Regions from separate parts of the Homo sapiens genome. Here region 2 is linked to region 1. The links are contacts of gene promoters, found by promoter capture Hi-C in blood cells and fetal thymus (Javierre and others, 2016). All regions are on one chromosome and are shown on one strand. Each heading gives the region's core, a stretch centred on a gene start or on the middle of the fragment in contact. The rest is flanking DNA. Distances are from core to core; before and after follow the strand shown.

Evidence for each region. Contacts are between HindIII fragments. The CHiCAGO score rates a contact against its expected background, and 5 or more counts as called.
Region 2: a contact is called between the fragment with the promoter of PIGP here and the fragment with the promoter of GET1 in region 1, in 1 of 17 cell types (monocytes). The highest score is 5.8, in monocytes.

Annotation. Positions count from the first base shown.
Region 1 is chr21:39,378,742-39,381,847 of GRCh38, forward strand. GET1 (guided entry of tail-anchored proteins factor 1) reads left to right here and starts at 1,585. Exons shown (of 5, transcript NM_004627.6): 1 at 1,585-1,745. The coding sequence starts at 1,644. It overlaps GET1-SH3BGR (GET1-SH3BGR readthrough), which reads left to right and starts at 1,585. Exons shown (of 14, transcript NR_146618.2): 1 at 1,585-1,745. The HindIII fragment of the contact is 3,691 bases long and covers 1-1,872 here.
Region 2 is chr21:37,071,237-37,074,381 of GRCh38, forward strand. PIGP (phosphatidylinositol glycan anchor biosynthesis class P) reads right to left here and starts at 1,835. Exons shown (of 5, transcript NM_153682.3): 1 at 1,764-1,835; 2 at 1,198-1,301. The coding sequence starts at 1,279. It overlaps TTC3 (tetratricopeptide repeat domain 3), which reads left to right and starts at 2,018. Exons shown (of 46, transcript NM_001330683.2): 1 at 2,018-2,237. RefSeq lists silencers at 1,306-1,585, 1,826-2,145, 2,366-2,425 and an enhancer at 1,733-2,027. The HindIII fragment of the contact is 9,103 bases long and covers 1-3,145 here.

The DNA of each region.
Region 1 (3,106 bases), core at 335-2,834:
TCACCCAGGCTGGAGTGCAATGGTGCGATCTCAACTCACTGCAACCTCCGCCTCCCAGGTTCAAGCGATTCTCCTTCTTCTGCCTCCTGAGTAGCTGGGACTACAGGTGCCCGCCACCACACCCAGCTAATTTTTGTATTTTTAATAGAGACAGGGTTTTGCCATGTTGGTCAGGCTGGTCTCGAACTCCTGACCTTAGGTGGTCCACCTGCCTCGGCTTCCCAGAGTGCTGGGATTACAGGCTTGAGCCACTGTGCCCAGCCGCATAATTATTTTAACTGGTTCATAATAATGAGCCAGAGTTGTGCTCTGTCGCCCAGGCTGGAGTCCAGTGGTGTGATCACAGCTCACTGCAGCCTCGACCTCCCAGGCTCAGGCGATCCTCTCATCTCAGCCTCCCTAGTAGCTGAGGCCACAGGCACGTGCCACAGTGCCCGGCTAATTTTTATATTTTATTGTAGAGATGGGGATCTCACTATGTTACCCAGACTGGTTTCAAACTCCTGGGCCTGTGATCCACCTTGCTTGGATCTCCCAAAGTGCTGGGATTACAGGCGTGAGCCAGTGTACCCGCAATCTTGCATCATTTTGATTAGGAATTAGTCCTCAGAAACCAGTCATGGCAGCATGGCAGAAGAGACAGTTGAACATGTCTTGCTTTATCCACTAGGCATACTTTTTTTTTTTTTTGAGACGGAGTCTCGCTCTGTCGCCAGAGCTGGAGTGCAGTGGCGCGATCTTGGCTAACTGCAACCTCCGTCTTCCGGGTTCAAGCGATTCTCCTGCCTCAGCCTCCGGAGTAGCTGGGACTACAGGCGCGCGCCACCACGCCCGGCTAATTTTTGTATCGTAGAGACGGGGTTTCACCATGTTGGCCAGGCTGGTTTCAATCTCTTGACCTCATGACCTGCCCGCCTCGGCCTCTCAAAGTGCTGGGATTACAGGCGTGAGCCACCTCGCCCTGCTCACTTTGCATACATTTGAGTTGGGATTCTTTCGCTGCAAAACCTGATCTTCACCTAGATTCAGGTTAATTTATTAACTATTACTAATGATTGTGAACAGTGCATTCTATTAAACTTATTTTTCAGGTATGCAGTTGTGTAAATTGGTTAGACTTACTACAGTGTTTAGATCTGGAACGAAAACGTAAGGCATTTTCCATGTAACTGCTTGGAACACGACAGTTACCTGCTACTATAAAAACGGTAGTTTTCTATTTATGGAAGAGTTTTTCTTAAACTTATCTAGAATTAAAAGTTAATTTAAAGAAAGTACTAATTATGACAAAAGCAGGGAGTCGTTAGCACTTGAAACCAGAGTTTGGTACTATGAGAAGGTTTTTAATTTTAAAAAGAAGGAAAAAAAGAAACACGGACGTCAGAAAACTGGTTCAGTAGGGATGGGTGCTAGAAGGCTACGGAACCGCCGAAGGCCCAGGAGAAACCCGGAACGTGTTAACCGCTCCAACTGGAGCCGGACGAAAAAACGGCCCCGCCTCCCGCGAGGGCGACGCAGTTCGCAGGCGCGTCGGCGCGCCTGTTCTGGGGCGCTTGGCTTCACCGCGCAGGCGCGGTCGCCGCTGTTGTTGTGGTCCCCATGGAGCTGCCGTAGCGGACCCAGCACAGCCAGGAGCGTCCGGGATGAGCTCAGCCGCGGCCGACCACTGGGCGTGGTTGCTGGTGCTCAGCTTCGTGTTTGGATGCAATGTTCTTAGGATCCTCCTCCCGTCCTTCTCATCCTTCGTAAGTGGCTGCCTGGCCTCCCAAGGGCCGGTGGGGATGCCGCCCCAGTCCCCCGGCGGGTCTGGCGTAGGTACAGGGGTCTCAACTGGGCGACTGAAGGCCGTAGTAGCGTCTTGGTTGGTCCGTAAGCTTTTTTGAGATAGTTGTTAGCGTCTAAAAGGTACGACGCTTTACCCCAAAATCAGACTTTCTGGGTTCTAGGGGGTTGGGAGAAACACCGGGCAACCCTGGACTCTTCTGGCTGTGGGTGGCGGCGGCGAACCTCACACTGGGAGTTCCTAGTGCCCCGCTGTCAGCCTCGTTTCCGTTAATCCTGGTTCCTAGAGGCATTCGAGCAGCCCTCGGCCAGGGTTTCCCAGAGGCCTGGCGGGCGAAGTCAGCTGTTCCAGGTCCCGGAGAGATGGATCCTCGCGTCCAGGAGCCCACATTCTTGGGGTGGGTAGGGTGGGAGACAGGTGTAGAGAGAATCTCAGTACAGCGTGATGCCTTCAGTATCCAAGGGAGCAACCAGGTTGGGGAACACTCTCTTTCTGCCAGGTAGTGAGTACATTACCTCTGTCTCACGGCTGCTGGGAGAGGCGAGTATTATCATCCCACCCTCCTTTACCTCCCGGAGGAGTCTGGCTCAAGAGAATTTAGTGGTGGCACTAAGTCATCCACCTAGTGACTGGAGGTGGAGATTTGATTGCCTTTTGGAGCAGGGATAGGGATTTGGTGGCAAATTGGACAGGGCGTGGTGGGGTGTGGCCATGGAAGGCGGGGGTACCTTGGGAACTGTCCCCGAGAATGAGCGCCCTCCGTATGCCCACAGCAGAAATGAGGAGCTGTTGGGCAAAGGCGGAGTCCTCAAAGATTGGGCGCATTCGTTTCAGCGTTGTCTTGGAAAACAGTTCTTGCTTTTCTCTCCTAAGATAAATTGGTAGTAGTGGAGGATATTTTATTCCACCAGTATTCATTGAGTGCCTGTTTTGTGCAAAACTCTATTCTTACTCTCTCAATTGTCCTACTGTCTGCATTGTCCTGAGATATAGGGAATTCTCTTTTAACCCCTGAGTCTCCTTCAGAATCTTTCCTGATGCTATCCAGTCTTTAAGATGATGTCTCAGGCATTGCATAAAAGACTCCTGATGAGCTGGCCCATGCTCATCTTCTTGTTTTTAATTGTAAAATACACATAATATGAAGTTTATCATCTTTATCATTTTTAGGTGTACAGTTCAGTGGCATTAAGTACATTCACATTTTTGTGCAACCATTATCCCAGAACTTTATTATTATTATTTTAAGACAGGGTCTGGCTCTGTGCAGTGGTGTAATCTCGACTCATTGCAACCTCTGCCTCCCAGGTTCAAGTGATCCTC
Region 2 (3,145 bases), core at 585-3,084, 2.3 Mb before region 1:
ATCCTCACAACAGTCAGAAGAGGCAGCAGAGTGAAGTCAGCCAGTGTATTTGGGTTCAAATTTAGAAGGCTTTTATTTAGTAGCTTTGCAATCTTGAGCAAGTTACTGAAACCACAGGATGCTCATCTTTAAAGGACAGTAATAACAGAACCTACCCCATAGAACTGTTTCATGCGTCATAAGCATTTAATAACCATCATTATCACTACCCTTTTACAGATAAGGAACCTGAGGCTCAAAAAATTTGCTGAGGGTCCCAGCTCACATGGCTAATCTGTGGAGGAGTCAGAATTCGAACTCAGTTGTAACTTCTTCACTTCACTTCAGTTTTAATAGCCTGGCCATTACATTCATCTGCAAGCTGTGCTGATGGTGCAGGCTGATATATTTTAGTTAGGGTTCAGAAGTACTACCACTCCTCCACTTTCCTGGTTTCCAAACAGTTGCAGAACGTTGGATCACGGGCACTCAATTTTCTCCCTTTTGTGTGCCTCAAAATTCTCAAATCATTTTGGGGAGAGACTTGGGACTTGCTGTGTGAGTGGGCATATTAGTGTCTTAGTGAGCATCAGTCTCCTTATCTGTAAAATGGAATGTTATGGGGTTAAATTAAGGGAGATCCAGGACGCAAACGACACACCTTTCAACCCGACTTCTCTGGCCTACTTCTCCTGTTCCCCAGATCCCGCAGGGCACACTGGTGACATCACAAGCTCCTCGGGTCCAAACCCTCTCACGCCCTCATTCAAGGCCTTTCCACTTCTTCCCTCCCTCTTACTCTTTCCTAATCAGCATCAGTGCCAGGGGGAAAGGCCTCTGTAGAAAGCCTTGACTTTCCAGTCTGGTTTCAATGTCTCTCCACCGTGCTCCCTGACACTCATCACACTGAGCATTAACTGTAGATTTACCCATCTGTCTCCTCCACAAGACCACGACCTCCTTAAGGGCAGGGACCAGGCTTTATCCACTTTGCCATCGCGTCTGGTGCTGTATAAATATTTGTAGAGACTAAAACCTCCTAGGCTAGTGCTGGCACACGGAACACTCAGCAAACACGAGATCCCTTCAGATTTTCTTAAAAAGAGACATAGGGAGAAAGAATCAACAGTTCATGTGTGCACAGTCTAACCAATGTATTCTTCCCTTGTCACTGAACGCCAGAAAAAGCCCCTGGCCATCCATCAGGAAAGTACTTACTGAAGCCAAATTGGGAGCTTAAGAAAAGAACAAAGCCATAAATCGCTCTTTCTGGCAATGGCGACGGTGAATTTTCCACCATTTTTCCTGGGGCTTTAGACAATCTGTGGAAAAGGAACACAATCAGCGTCAGCGATGTGCTCCGTGGCACCATTGATCCATTCTCGCCTCCTCGCTCCGCCGCGGGTACGGCCCCCGCCGCGCAGAACCGCCTCCCGCGCCTCCGTCCGCAACCCGCGCCCCCGCCTCGAGCGCATACAGACACCCAGGCTGGCGCGCGCCCCGCAACAGAAGGGGTGGCGGAGGATAGGGCAGGGAGGGGGGTTCTGGGGCGATAGACGCGCGCTCCAGCTCTGCAAGCGTGGCCTCCCTGTGGGAGGGGAGGGCAGGGAACAAGGCTCGCGCGGCGCCCACCAGCATGCGGGCCTACTAGGTCGCGGCGCCCAGGCCCCGGGCCCTGCCCATTCGTGGAGACTTCTATTTCTCATTCGAGGCGGGGTATGGGGGGGCCCTCGACCTCGGGTCCTTCATACGCCCACCCAGGCCCCTCCCGACACCTCGGCCACCTCAGCGCTGAGTTCTCCGCGCAAGCGCCGACTGGGGAGCCGCAGTGGGGAAGAGGAAAACCTGAGGGAAAGGCCTAGGCGCGACGGCAACCCCCACCCTGGCGCAGGCGCACAACGACCCTCCCCGGGTGGGAGCCAGCGAGCGCGGGGGCGGGCGTGATCCCGCGGCTCGCGACGGCGAAGGAGGGGGCGGTGGGGTGCGACTGCGCACGCGCGCTGCCAGCCCACGTGACGCACCTCGCTTCAACGCCGCCACCCGCTCCCTCCCGCCGTCGGCTGACGTGGAGGGCCGGAGGTGGCGGCGGCGGCGGCGGCGGCTGCTGCTGCTGCTGCCCGCGTCCGAGGCTCGCGGGCGGCGGGCCCGGGTGAGTGCACACCCGGCGCGCTGCCGGGCTCCCGGATGTGTCACCTTGTCCCGCTGCAGCCGAGATGCCGGGGGAGCGGGGCCTTCCACACCCCCTCCGTGGGTGTGTGGTGAGTGTGGGTGTGTGCGCGTCTCCTCGCGTCCCTCGCTGAGGTGCCTACTGTGTCTGCATGGGTTGGGTCCCGCGCGATGAGGGGGTGTGGCCGCCATTGCCTACCCCAGTGGGTTTGCCCCCTTGGTCTGGTGCCCCTTCGCGAGCGAGGCCCTGGGATGCCGGTGCGAGGGTGTGAGTAGTCCCTTTGTGCGCAACCCCCCGCTGCCCGTGCCTCGGCCGGTGCGTGGCTGACACCTCCGCTGGGTGGAGGCGCTCGCGTGTCGCCTCGTCGCCCCTTTTGTGTCGGTGTCCGCGCTCCCTGGCGGCTGCGTGGGCGCTCTCGGCCTTGCAGGTGGCCCCCCTTTGTGTTACTGCCCCTGTCTGTGGGCTGCGCGTCCCCTAGCGCGCGTGGCCGCGCCTTCTGCAATTGCGACCCCCGCCTAGAGCCTTGCTCGCGCAAGTGTGCGTCCTTGCGTGTCTCCGAGTGACGCAGAGTGTCTGCGCATGGGTCCTGTTGAGTGCGTGATCTCTTGTGTGCGGATTTAATTCTGTCGAGTGGGTATCTCTTGTGTGCAGGTTTCGTTGGTGAGCGTGAACGTTCGTGCACACCCCTTGCTGTGTGTGCGTGTCACGACTCTGTTGCCACCTGTTTTCGTGTGAACTGGCAGTCCAGTCCAGGGCCTGTCCCCACGGAACGGACCCAGGAGGGGGGTAACCTCGCCGCTCCCCTCGCCCCCGCGCCTCTTTCTGAGCATTCTCTCCCACAGACGCTAATGGGAAGGGGGGTGGACAGGATCGAGTCTGGCCAGCTGCTCCGCAGTGTTGACGCTGCCAGTGTGGCCTCTTCAGCCAGCCTGTTCAGGAGACAGAATAGGGGGATCAAAGATAAAAAATGAAGCCGAGACGTAGGTGAATTTGGGCTGG